2 separate regions of the Homo sapiens genome follow, and region 1 is linked to region 2. The links are contacts of gene promoters, found by promoter capture Hi-C in human tissues and cell types (Jung and others, 2019). All regions are on one chromosome and are shown on one strand. Each heading gives the region's core, a stretch centred on a gene start or on the middle of the fragment in contact. The rest is flanking DNA. Distances are from core to core; before and after follow the strand shown. Region 1 holds the start of TNNT3 (troponin T3, fast skeletal type). Region 2 has its middle 18 kb from the start of SYT8.

Evidence for each region. Contacts are between HindIII fragments. The study calls those that stand out against the background at their distance.
Region 1: a contact is called between the fragment with the promoter of TNNT3 here and a fragment that was not itself captured in region 2, in 2 of the 25 tissues and cell types used here (liver and pancreas).

What each region holds. Positions count from the first base shown.
Region 1 is chr11:1,915,521-1,921,074 of GRCh38, reverse strand. It overlaps TNNT3 (troponin T3, fast skeletal type), which reads right to left and starts at 1,372. Exons shown (of 16, transcript NM_006757.4): 1 at 1,313-1,372. It also overlaps a transcript of PRR33 not described here. RefSeq lists an enhancer at 4,005-4,054 and a silencer at 4,605-4,654. The HindIII fragment of the contact is 33,765 bases long and covers 1-5,554 here.
Region 2 is chr11:1,813,889-1,819,930 of GRCh38, reverse strand. No RefSeq gene overlaps it. Among named protein-coding and RNA genes, the nearest start is that of SYT8, 18 kb to the left of the region's middle. The HindIII fragment of the contact is 5,465 bases long and covers 862-6,042 here.

The DNA.
Region 1 (5,554 bases), core at 123-2,622, 100 kb before region 2:
CCAGCTCCTCATATTTCCCTCCTGTCCCCCCAGGCCAGAGTCACATGGGTGCCCCAACACCCTCAGGCAGGGTGACCTCCAGGCCCCCCGACGTGCGCTGGAAAGGCCCACTCTCCAAGTGGGGAAACTGAGGCACCTGGTTTTCTGCTGAGCGCCTGGAAGCAACACAAGGCTGTTCTGTTCCCCCCAGTATGGCCTGTGTCATTGCCTCTGTTGCGGGGAGGGGCTGGTGGCAGGGGTGTGCTGGGGGCAGGGGTGTGCTGGGGGCAGGGGATGGCATTTCAACAGCTGAGACGCAAAGCAGGTGTCCAGTTAGTGCCTGCCTTGGAGGGGCTGCGTGAAAATAACCTATGCGGTCAGTTTCTTCGGGCACGTATGCATCACCTTTCCCTCCTTGGGAGGTGACGGGGCCAGGGCAGGGTGGGGAGGCAAAAGCCGCTGCCCCTTGCTTGCTGTGGCCCTGACCATGCCCCCAGACCTGTTCTCCACCCAGCCAACCTTTGCTTTGCCCCATGTCCCTCCGTGGACTTCAGGAGGGGCAGCCAAGGCCTGATCAGACGGCACAAGTCAGGGGGACCGTGTCCAGGGCAGGGAGGGTGGGTGGGGGCTCTTACGAGCGCCAGCTTCTCCAGCCTCCAGCCAGGGGGACGCGATGAAGCCCAGCCCCTCACTCTTGCCCCGTCCTGCCCCAGTCCAGCCCCTGTCCACTTCTGTCCTGCACCTCCAGACGCTGGCCCCCAAGGCTGCGTGGGCTTTAGACGCCCCCACCCCAACACACTCGGGCTGGCCATACAGGAGCCCCTGCCCTCCTGTCCTCGTTTTCATCTCTACAAAATGGCGGTGTTGGAGGCCCAGGTGCGAGAGCTGCATGGCAAGGCCAGGACGGGCCTGGGCAAATGTCTGCATGGCGACCACAAGCTGGCAACCTAAGCCCTGGCAGCACCCCTGCACAGCCTCTTCCCTGCCGCTCACAGCCCGCACCTCTCTGCCTCCTGCCCTCAGGCCACTCCCTAGCACTGAGCTTCCCTGAGCCCCGACTTGCCCCCTCCTGGCCTCCCACACTCTGCCTTCTTCTGCATCCTCCCGGTGCTGAGACCATCACACCACCATGTCCGCATCCCAGACTCTCCGGACGCTGGAGCAGCCACCTGGGGGCTCCGAGCCATGATGCTTCGAGATGCTCGGCACCACACGGACCTGGGACCTCAGCGCCCCAGGACCCCAGAGTGTCCCTGGAACGAGGGGCTGTCCACCCGCACGCAGGAGGCCCCGTCGGCCCCAGTCCTGGGTGGCCGCTCCTGCCTATACCCACCTGCGGGTCGAGTGTGAGAAGGGCTGGAGCTCCCTGTGGACAGCACCGGCTGCAGGCACTGGCGCCCGGCTCACACCCTCGTGTTATAGTGACATTTGATCTTCCTAGGAGCCCATTGGCCAGTGACTGGGTGGCCGGGGTGTGTGCGGAGTCTTGCTGGGGGGGGCTATGCCCGTGCAGGCCCCTTACCAAGTATAGGAATGGCCAGAGGAGGAGGCTGAAGGAGGCCAGGATGCAGAGGACGTGCTTGGAGAAGGAGGCAAGGTCCTCCCTCCGCCTCCAGGAGGTGTCAGCTGCTATTTTTACTCCCAGCAGCGGGTACATTCTGGATGGGCTGAGGAGGGAGGAGGAAGGTGTTGGGTGGCCCCGGGGCACCAAGCCGAGGCTCTCTTTGGGCCAAACTAGTGTGGGGGTCCCCAGAGCCAGGCTGCCGGGTTTCCCACCCCCCCGCCCCTTCTCTCTGAGATGTTCTGTGGGAGTAAACATTTGTCCAGGAAAAGGGTCCGCACAGCCGGGGTCCCCTCCCGCCGCCCGGCCCAATGCCCCAGGCCCTTCGCTGTCTCCCCCGGGGAGGAAGCAGCCTGAGGCCTCGGAGACCCCCCATGGAACTGAGGCCAGGCCCCCACCCTATCTGAGACCCTCTTAGAGGCCAGCTCTGCTTTCCTGGCTAGACACCGTTGGGGCCTACACAATAAGCGGGCGAGGGACATGGCCAGGCTGGCTGCAGTCCGAGTCTGCCATACCTCCCCCCGGGGCTGCTGCCATTGCAGGGGGCTACACATGGAGTTTGCTGGGTAAGGGTCTGGGTCCTCCCTCTAGGCCCTTTCTAACCCTGGGGCCCCACCCTGGGCACTCGCAGTGGCCGTTACCATCTGTGCCAGCATCTCCCACAGGCTCATTGTGGCGTGTGGAGACTGGTTTTCTTTCCTCAGGACTCCAGGTGGCACCGTCCGACTAGCAGACATCCTTCCTGGCCTCTGATGGCCTGTATGCTGGCCAGTGAGGCCACCAGATTGGATAACCCTGCCTCTTGGATCAGGGAAACTGAGGCACCAGGTGGGGGAGAGCAGTCTGGCACCCTGACCCACCCCCTCACTCCCCTCAGACCCCACAGGCTGAGCGTGGGCGGTGGTGTCTGCGGAACTCTTCGGTTCAGGCACAGATTGGTTCCTTCTTGGCCAGCGCCCAGGACAGGGGTGAGTCCCGAGAGGCACAGATGAGGTCCCTGTCCTCCCCAGGCTTAGAGTCAGGGACAACAGGATAACCCGGCAGGGGCTCACAGTGCCCTGGGGCCGGGTCGGGGGCCTTCCGGAAGGCTGTGGTTGGCACCTCATTCCACCCCTCCATGGAAGAGCGAGGCCGCAGAGCCCAGGGACAGGCAAGGTGTGCCTGGGGTCACACGACAAGGCGGGCTGGCCCCAGGCTGCCATTTCAAAGGACAGGGCCGGTCCCCTGCCTGCCTCCCGCTGAGTGCCCGGCACTGGGAAGGCTCTTGGAGCTGGGGTTGCTGGGAACGTCGCCGTCCTCCTGCTCTGGGTCTGTGGCTTCGTCTGCATTCCACGCCTTCCCCTCCCTGTCCATGTCCTCGATGGGCAAGGCTTTGGGGGCCACAAACAGCCCTGGCCCCTGGATATCTGTGACCAGCTTCCTGCCCACTGGGGACATCTGCAGAACTGCTCCCTCAGAGGCACGTGAGCGGGTCCCTGGGGGTCAGCGGGCCCACCCCATCCTCTCCCATGGTGGGGCCAACCTCCTTTTCCAGGCTCGCTCTGCCGGCTTCTCTAACGGAGCCCTGAGCCCACCATTCTGGTTACACGTGGTTCAGTCTGCAGGCCTAGGAAGCCTGTGCCCACCCAAGCCCTCACCCAGGCCAGGGGTCCTGAGGGGCGCACCTGAAGGTGGGTGTGCCATAACCCTGCACTGGCCCCGTGTGGCCAGCAGGGGAAGGTGCTGCCCGCCCAGCTCCTGGAGCTTTGGCAGGCGCTCTCCGCCCAGCCAGCTGAGGTCAGAGGGATAGGGCAGGTTTTATTTTGGGTATCGGCGACCTCCCCCTCGGGCGCTGGGCCTGAGGCGTAGCAGGGACTGCACAGAGCAGGCACCAGCGGCCTCGAGGGCCTGCACCAGGTAACCCATGCCCTGCTGCCATCTGGCCGGACCGGGATGGTCCAAGGAGAGGAGGCAGGGCAGGGGCCTCCTGGGGGACTGTAGACCTGGGTGGGGGCAGGGCACAAGGGAGGCCCAGCCTGGGTTGGGGACGCATTTCCACCCAGGAGGAGTCTGAGGACGGACCACGGGGCCTTGGCTCTAGGGCAGTTGTTGGGGGATGGGGGGGTTCTGAAATTGGCAAATGCTGAGCCAAGCCCAGGGAGTGGGGAGCAGGCTGTGGGAGGGAGGATGGCCTCCTGAGTGTCTTGGCTGCAGCTCCCTGCCTGGGTGGCCCCCAGATGGTGGCCGGGGCCCCTCAATCTAGGTCCCAGCACCCAGTGCGCATGGTTGGGGGTGGTGGAGACCAAGAGGGTCCTGAGCCTCTCCTCATGCCCTGAGCTGACCTGAGCCCCCAGGCTGGATCCAGCCTGAGGCCGCTCGGCCCAGCTGTGGGCTCAATCACTGCCAGGCCCAGGACAGGAGCAGCTGACACAGCACTTGGGAACTGAGCTGCTCCAGCCCTAGGTAGCTGCCTCCCCACATGCCTAGTGCTTCTGATTTTGCAGTTTCATTGACTCGTTCTGCAGATATGATGGGTGTCTTCTCTGTGGCTGGCCTAGGGGCTTGTAGCAAGGGTCACAGGGTGTCTGGTGGCTGCTCTGGCAGGCAGGACAGAGGCTAGGGGCTTCATCTGCCATCCCTGGCCAGGGGCCTCTTAGGCTGCAGGCCTTTTGAGCCTCCTGACCTCCGCATTGGGCATGGCCTGACCTCCAGGTTTCCAGGAGCAGGGGCATGGGGTTGCTGTGGCCGTGGACGGGAGGCTGCATCAGAAACACAGCAGGGCTGTGGCTGGGTAGAGCTCAGAGGGACAGGCCCTGGGTCCTTGTTCTCGAGGCTGAGCCGAGGGGTGCAGATGATCTGACAAGGGGCCAGGGCTGGTCGGGGGCGGGGTGGGCAGTGGCTGCCTCCTCAGCACTGCTGACCCCAACTACCCCCTGCCCCTGGTGCTGTCCACTCTGCACCCCAGTGCTGAGTGCCCAACTGTGGCCTTTGGGCCTGCCTCTCGGCTGCCCTTGGTCACCGTCCCAAGCGGATCAGGTGGGAAACAAGGGGAGTGCTGTCACTGGGTGGTTCCCCAGCTGGGGAGGGTGGCCTGGATCCTCTCTCAGTGGCTGGGGCATCTGAGAAAGGATGGGGGCACGTCACCTCCCTTGTGTGGGTGGTGGCTCTGTCGAGGTTTTGCTTTTCTGAACTGTGTGTATTCATGAGGCAAGCAGGGTTTGACATGAAGCCTTCAGAAAATAGTGGCTGTGAGGACCCAAGGGAATGGCAAAGTGAAGTCCAGAACATCAGAGTCTGGGGTGCTGCTCCTCGAAGGGACTTCCCAGACGCTGAAGGCTGCAGGGCTGAGTGTCAGGGCCCAGTGCAAGACCTGGGAGAGGAGGGACAGGAGGGAGGGTGTCCCCAGGCTGTCTGCTATTTCACACAGTTGTCCATTCATCCACCCATCTATTCATTCCCATGCATTCACTCTCACCTTCACCACTTCCTTTCCTTCCTTCCTCCCTCCTTCTCTTCCATCATCCATCCCTCCGTCTGTCCATCCTTTCAACCACCCATACAATCACCTACCCATCCACTCATCCCTCCATTTCATCTATCCCTCCCGCCATCCATCCATCCATCCATCATTAGTCTATCCATCCATTCATCCACCCACCTATCCATCTATCTACCCATCCATCTACCTGTCTATCCATCCATCCATCCATCTCTTCATCTATCCATCTACCCATTCATGCATCCATCCATCCCTCCCTCCCTCCCTTCATCCACCCTCCCTTCATCCATCCATCCCTCCCTCCATCCATCCATCCACACATCCACTCATCACCCCAACACACACACCTCCCCACAACACACACACACACAGAAACATCACCCCCCCAAAACACACACACATAACATCACCCCCCACAACACACACACACAGAAACATCACCCCGCACACACACACATACAAATAATATCCCCCCCAACACATGCACACACAGAAACATCACCCCCCACAACACACACACACACAGAAACATCCCA
Region 2 (6,042 bases), core at 2,345-4,844:
TAAATAAAGTTTTATTGGAACATGGCCCCCACTCATTCACTTATGTACCATCTGTGACTGCTTTCATGGTACCATGGCTGTGGTGATTCCAAGAAGGTCCCCCCAGACTTTGTGCCGTGATTCCCAGAATTGTGAATAATTCTCACCCTTGTGAGTGTGTTATGTTGTCTGGCAAAAGGCATTTTGCGGATAAAGTTTAGGCTGCTGATGAGTTGACTTTAAAATAGAGAGAGGATCACGGTGGGCCTGGTTGAATCCCATGAGCCCTGTAAAAGCAGAGTTTGGGTTGTTTTTTTTACCCCCCAGCTGGTGGTAGGAGAGAAATTGAGAGGGATTCACAGTGATTCTCCTCGAGGAAGGCTCTCCATGAACCAGGGGAAAGGACTGAGCACGACCTCCTGCAGAGAGTCACCCTGCCTACAGCCAGCAGGAAGATGGGGACCTACAAACACAAGAACCGAATTGTGTCCACACCGTGAATGCCCCGAGAGTGGAGTCTTCCCCAGCACCTCCAGAGAGGAGCCCAGCCTGGCTGGCATCTGCTCTCAGCCAGTGAGGACCTAAGGAAAAAGCCCTACAGGAATGCCCAGAGCTCTGTTCCACAGGATGCACAGGATTTGTTTCACAGCTGGGTTTGTGGTGATTTATTACACAGTGATAAAAAACAGACACAATGACAGAGAGCAAATGGCCTGCAAAGACAGATGTGTTTGCAACTCAGCCCTTGTAGAAAACAACCACAACAACAAGCCCTAAGTTAGGTTTCTCAGTCTTGGCATTGTGGGCATTTGGGGCCAGGCTGTTAGTTTTCTATGGTGTGGAACAAATTGCCACAAACTTAGTGGCTTAGAACAACACATGTTTCTTATCTCACAGTTTTTGTGGGTAGAAGCCTGGGGCACAACTTAGCTGGGTTCTCTACCTCAGGATCCCATGGTGTCAGCTGGGGCTGCATTCTCATCTGAAGGTCCAACTGGGACAGGGCCTGCTTTGCATTCACTTAGCTTGTTGGTAGAATTCAGGTCCTTGTGGTTGTAGCACTGAGGTCCTCACTTCCTGCAGGCCACCCATAGTTCCCAGTCTTGTGGGCCCCTCAAAGGCAGTTCACACATGGCTCTTGCTTCTTCAAGGCCAGCAGGAGACAGAGAGAGTGACTCCAGAATATTATATACTATAATATAATCCCAGGTGTGACATCTACCACCTTTGCCATATTCTGTTGGTTAACACTTTCAAGGAGAGGGGACAACACAGAAGCACAGCCAACAGGAAGCAGAAATCACTGTGGTTCACCTTAGGGTCTTTCTAACCCAGCCAGATAATGTTTGCTGTGGGGCTGTCCTGTGCACTTTAGGATATTTGTCAGCATCCCTGATCCCTACAGCAACTCTCAGTTACAACAATCAAAAATACCTGTAGATATTGCCAGAGGGGCAAAACTGCCCCCAGTTGAGGACCACTGCCCTAGATCCATCATTTCATTAGGGGTTGCAAAATTGCAATTTTCTAAACTTGGTATTTCTTCAGCATTTATTTGCAAGAGTTCTTCTAAAGATACACTTTCCCACATCAAATATTTGGTACAGGGAAGGCAGAGAAAAATATTGATTATTTTAAATATATATTATTGTGAAATCATAAATTGAAGTATATTACTTAAATGTACTGTATTGAATGTGTGCAGTAATTCTCAATGGCTGTGGAACAAATTGCCACAAACATAAAGCTCCCATTTAGTATATGCACTTCTGTATGCCAGATGTCCTGGTATAGCTTAGCCAGATTCCTCACTCAGGGTCTCACTAGCTTGAGATCAAGCTGTCAGCCAGGCTGTGTTCTCATCTGGAGACCCAACTAGGGAGGGAGCAGCTTCCAGGCTCATTTAGGTTTTGGCAGAACTTATTTCCATGAAGTTGCAGAATTCATGGCAGCTTCCTCCTTCAAAGCCAGCAACAGAGAGAGAGGGTCTCTGCCCCTTCGAGTCTCTAACTTCAGAGAAGCCCTAGACTCTCTTACAAAGGGCTTGCCTGTTAAGTCAGGACCACTGAGAAAAATCTCCTTTTGATTAACTCAAAGTCAACTGGTTAGGAACTTAATTATATCTGCAAAGTCTCTTCACTTTTGCTTTAATCTCTCAGTCAAAGAAAAATCACAGATTCTGCCCTGCCTCAGGGCAGGGGATTAAATAAGGCCATTACTCACTGGAGGCCGCATTAGGGTGTGCCTGACACAATGCCCTTCCATTCATTGAACTTATTGTCTTTACTGGTGACCATGTGGTCCCACATTTGGTCAATGGGGATACATTTAAGTTGACTGGTATGTCATCTTGAAATGACCTCAGTAGTCTTTGATTGTTTCTTAGCTTTCTGATGCAATGAGAAGTTCCAGGTTTATCTTATGTCATGGCTATGTCATGGCTCAGCCCAGAACCAGTCATTTCTCCAAGGGTTCACGGTTCTTTTTGAAGGGAGTTTGGTGGGTATTTAGAGGTCCCACTTTGGGTGCCAGGGTGCTCATTGCTACTAGTCTATTTTCATTGTTTCTAAGCTTTTACTGTGGACAGAATTAGGCAAGACCTATTTTTCCAGTTTTTGTATGGTGGTAAAATATGTGTAACAAAATTTACCATCTTCTAAGTGCACAGTTCCGTGGCATTCAGTACATTCGCGCTGCTGTCATCCCACTATCCAGCTCCAGAATGCCTTTTGTCTCGAAAAGCAGCAGCTCTGCTCCCATTAAATCCAACTCCCCCTCCACCTCCCCCAGCCCCTGGCACTCGCCATCCTACTTTCTGTCACTATAAATTTGACTACTCTAGGGACCTCATACAAATAGAATCATACAGTATTTGTCTTTTCTTTTTTCTTTTTTTGACTGGCTTAGGAAATAACTTTTTTTTGTTTTGTTTTTTTAAGATAAAGTCTTGCTCTGTCACCCAGGCTGGAGTGCAGTGGCATGATCCCAGCTCACTACAACCTCCACCTCCTGGGTTCAAGCAATTCTCCTGCCTCAGCCTCCTGAGTAGCTGGGATTACAGGCATGCACCACCATGCCCAACTAATGTTTGTATTTTTAGTAGAGACAGAGTTTCACCATGTTGGCCAGGCTAGTCTTGAACCCCTGACCTCAAGTGATCCACCCGCCTAGGCGTCTCAAAGTGCTGGGATTACAGGAGTGAGCCACTGTGGCCCAGCTGGAAATATATATTTTTAAAGGTAAATATATCATGGAATCATACTGATATTTCTAATTTACCTACAGGATTTTAAGTTTCTTTCTTGACTTCTTGGAGTGCATACGTTTATCTGAACCGTTTTATGACTGTGAACTGTTTTATGTGAACTGTTTTATGACTGAAAAAACTACAGGGCACAGGCAGGTTGCTCAGCATCCTGGTTGCTGTCTCTTTCAGGTGCCCCTTGCCCCTTTTTGCAAGCTTTATTTTTATTTTTTTGAGACAGAGTCTTGCTGTATTGCCCAGGCTGGAGTGCAGTGGTGTGATCTCGGCTCACTGCAACCTCCGCCTCCTGGGTTCAAGTCGTTCTCCTGCCTCAGCCTCCTGAGTAGGTGGGGCTGCAGGCGCCCACCACCTCACCTGGCTAATTTTTGTATTTTTAGTAGAGACGGGATTTCGCCATGTTGCCCAGGCTGGTCTCAAACTCCTAGCCTCATGTGATCTGCCCGCCTCATCCTCCCGAAGTGCTGGGATTACAGGCATGAGCCATGGCGCCCGGTCTCTTTTTGCAAGCTTTGATTGACAGTTCCATCTTTTAAAAGATATTTATTCACACCCCAAAACCTTTCTTAGTAAACGACAGTGTGTTAATCCCCATCTGGTCTGCCCCATGTTGAGTGCCCCAGACACGGGTCTGGGAGACCAGCCACAGCTTTGCCCAGAGCCTCTCACCCACTGTCAGCCACAGAGGCTCCCCAGCGTGGACACCCCTTGGTTTGTCCAACCAGACCCACTCCAACAGGTGGGTCACCTGCGCCATTTGCTCTTACATGGGGTGCCCCATGCATGGCCAACACAGCCACCGTTTGTAGGTTTTGAGGCAGTTTGGGTGGCCCCAGCTGACATCAAGTGGTCCTGGATGACACCTGTGTTCTTAGCCAGCCTAGAGCTCCTGCCTCAGCTGCCTTCATCCCGGGAATGCGTGGCAAGGCAGCTCTGTGGGCTGCTGTCTTCTGGTGCATTCTCCCTGAGTTTATCCAGAAGTTAGTCCCATTCCTGGGCCCACTACAATGTGGGTTAAGCCCTCATGACTCTGAGATCTCCTCATTCCCGAGGAACATGCTAGCACTTCTTGCAGCTCCACATCTCCCCACCTTGTCATCCTGGAGTATTCTCAGAAAGGCCAGAAGTTGTCACCCCTTCTAGGGGACTCACACGTGAGCCCAGCCCCTGTCCGTTTATGGAAGGAGACACCCCTGCTCCCATGGGGCCCTTCTCCTGGGGAAGGGAGGGAAAGAGCTTGGTGTTTGGGCCTGTATCTGGCCTTTCTCCCGGGAAGGCCCTGGACGTGATGCCCAGAGCGCCCAGCCACCCAGCAGGCTCCTGGCCGCCCATGCCCCAGGCCCAGCCTCCTAGGGCCGTAGCCTCCCCAGGGCCTCAGTGCCCCACCACCACCGGGAAATTCCAGTGGAATCATCACAGAGCCCTGGGGATGGTTAAGGCTCTCTGGTTGCAATAACACAAACTGAAGCTGGCGAACTTAAGCCAGGAAGAAAAGAGGGCATTTATTGGAAGGAGGGGCAGCCGTCAGACCAGAAGAAAGAACCAAAGAGCCCATTCAGGCTTCCTGGTCCGGGAGCCCATGAGCAGTCCCTGGAATGACACGGTCTTCCTTCTCGGGGAGCATGGCCACAGCCACCAGTTGATGGACAGGCCCACCAAGCTGCCCCTCCATGGAGGAAGGGTGGTTCCTTGCAGGGGAGGGGACACAGGCAAGGCCCAGGCCCAGAGCCTTCTGCAAGGGGAGGATTTCTTGTTTGTCCTAACACAGTGCCACTCAGGCTCGCCATGCACCATGGCCTGGCCCCGTTCAACATCAGCATCTCTTCCCTGCAGGCTCCTCTTTGGGACACACTGGCGCTGCCGTCGGGGGTCGGGTGCTGCCCAAGGACCTGAGATCCTATTCCATTCCTGACTCCCCCGGAGCTTGCAGCCTCCAGGAGACGGGTCTGATCTCACTTTCAAATCAAAGTCTTTCTGCATGAGGTCTGGTCATAGAGAAGGCGGCCCCTGTGGGCCCCCGGTTTGGGGACACAGAAATCCTTTCACTTCTGCAACCTCCCAAATGCGCTTTGAGCAGTTGTGTTATGGGCTAAATTGTGTCCTCTCAAAATTCACATGTTGCAATCCTAGTTCTCGGTGCCTAACGATGTGATTGTAGCTCGAGATGGGATCTTCTTTTTGTTTTTTTTTGAGACAGAGTCTCACTCTGTCACCCAGGCTGAAGTGCAGTGGCACAATCTCGGCTCACTGCAACCTATGCCTCCCGGGTGGGTTCAAGTGATTATCCTGCCTCAGCCTCCCAAAGTGGCTGAGATTACAGGTGTGTGCCACCACGCCTGGCTAAATTTTTTATATTTTTAATAGAGATGGGGTTTCACCATGTTAGTCAGGCTGTTTGAGATGGAATCTTTAAAGTGGCAATTAAGTTAAAATGAGGTCTCCAGGGAAAGCCCTAATTCAGTGTGGCTGTGTCCCTACAAGAAGGAGAGGTAAGGACAAACACACACCGAGGGACGGCTCTGAGGGCACACAGGGAGAAGGCAGCGTCTGCAAGCCATGGAGAGCGGCCTGGGAAGAAACAGCCCTGCCACAGGTTGATCTCAGACTCCAGCCTCCGGGACTGAGAGACAACAGATTCTCGCTGTTCGAGCTGTGCCACAGTAGTCACCCCTCATTGTGGGTTCAGTTACCGATGGCCAAGTATGGTCTGAAAACATTAAATGGAAAATTCCAGAAAGATGCAATTCATAAGGTTTTTTTTTTTGTTTGTTTGTTTGTTTTTTGTTTTTTGTTTTTGACAA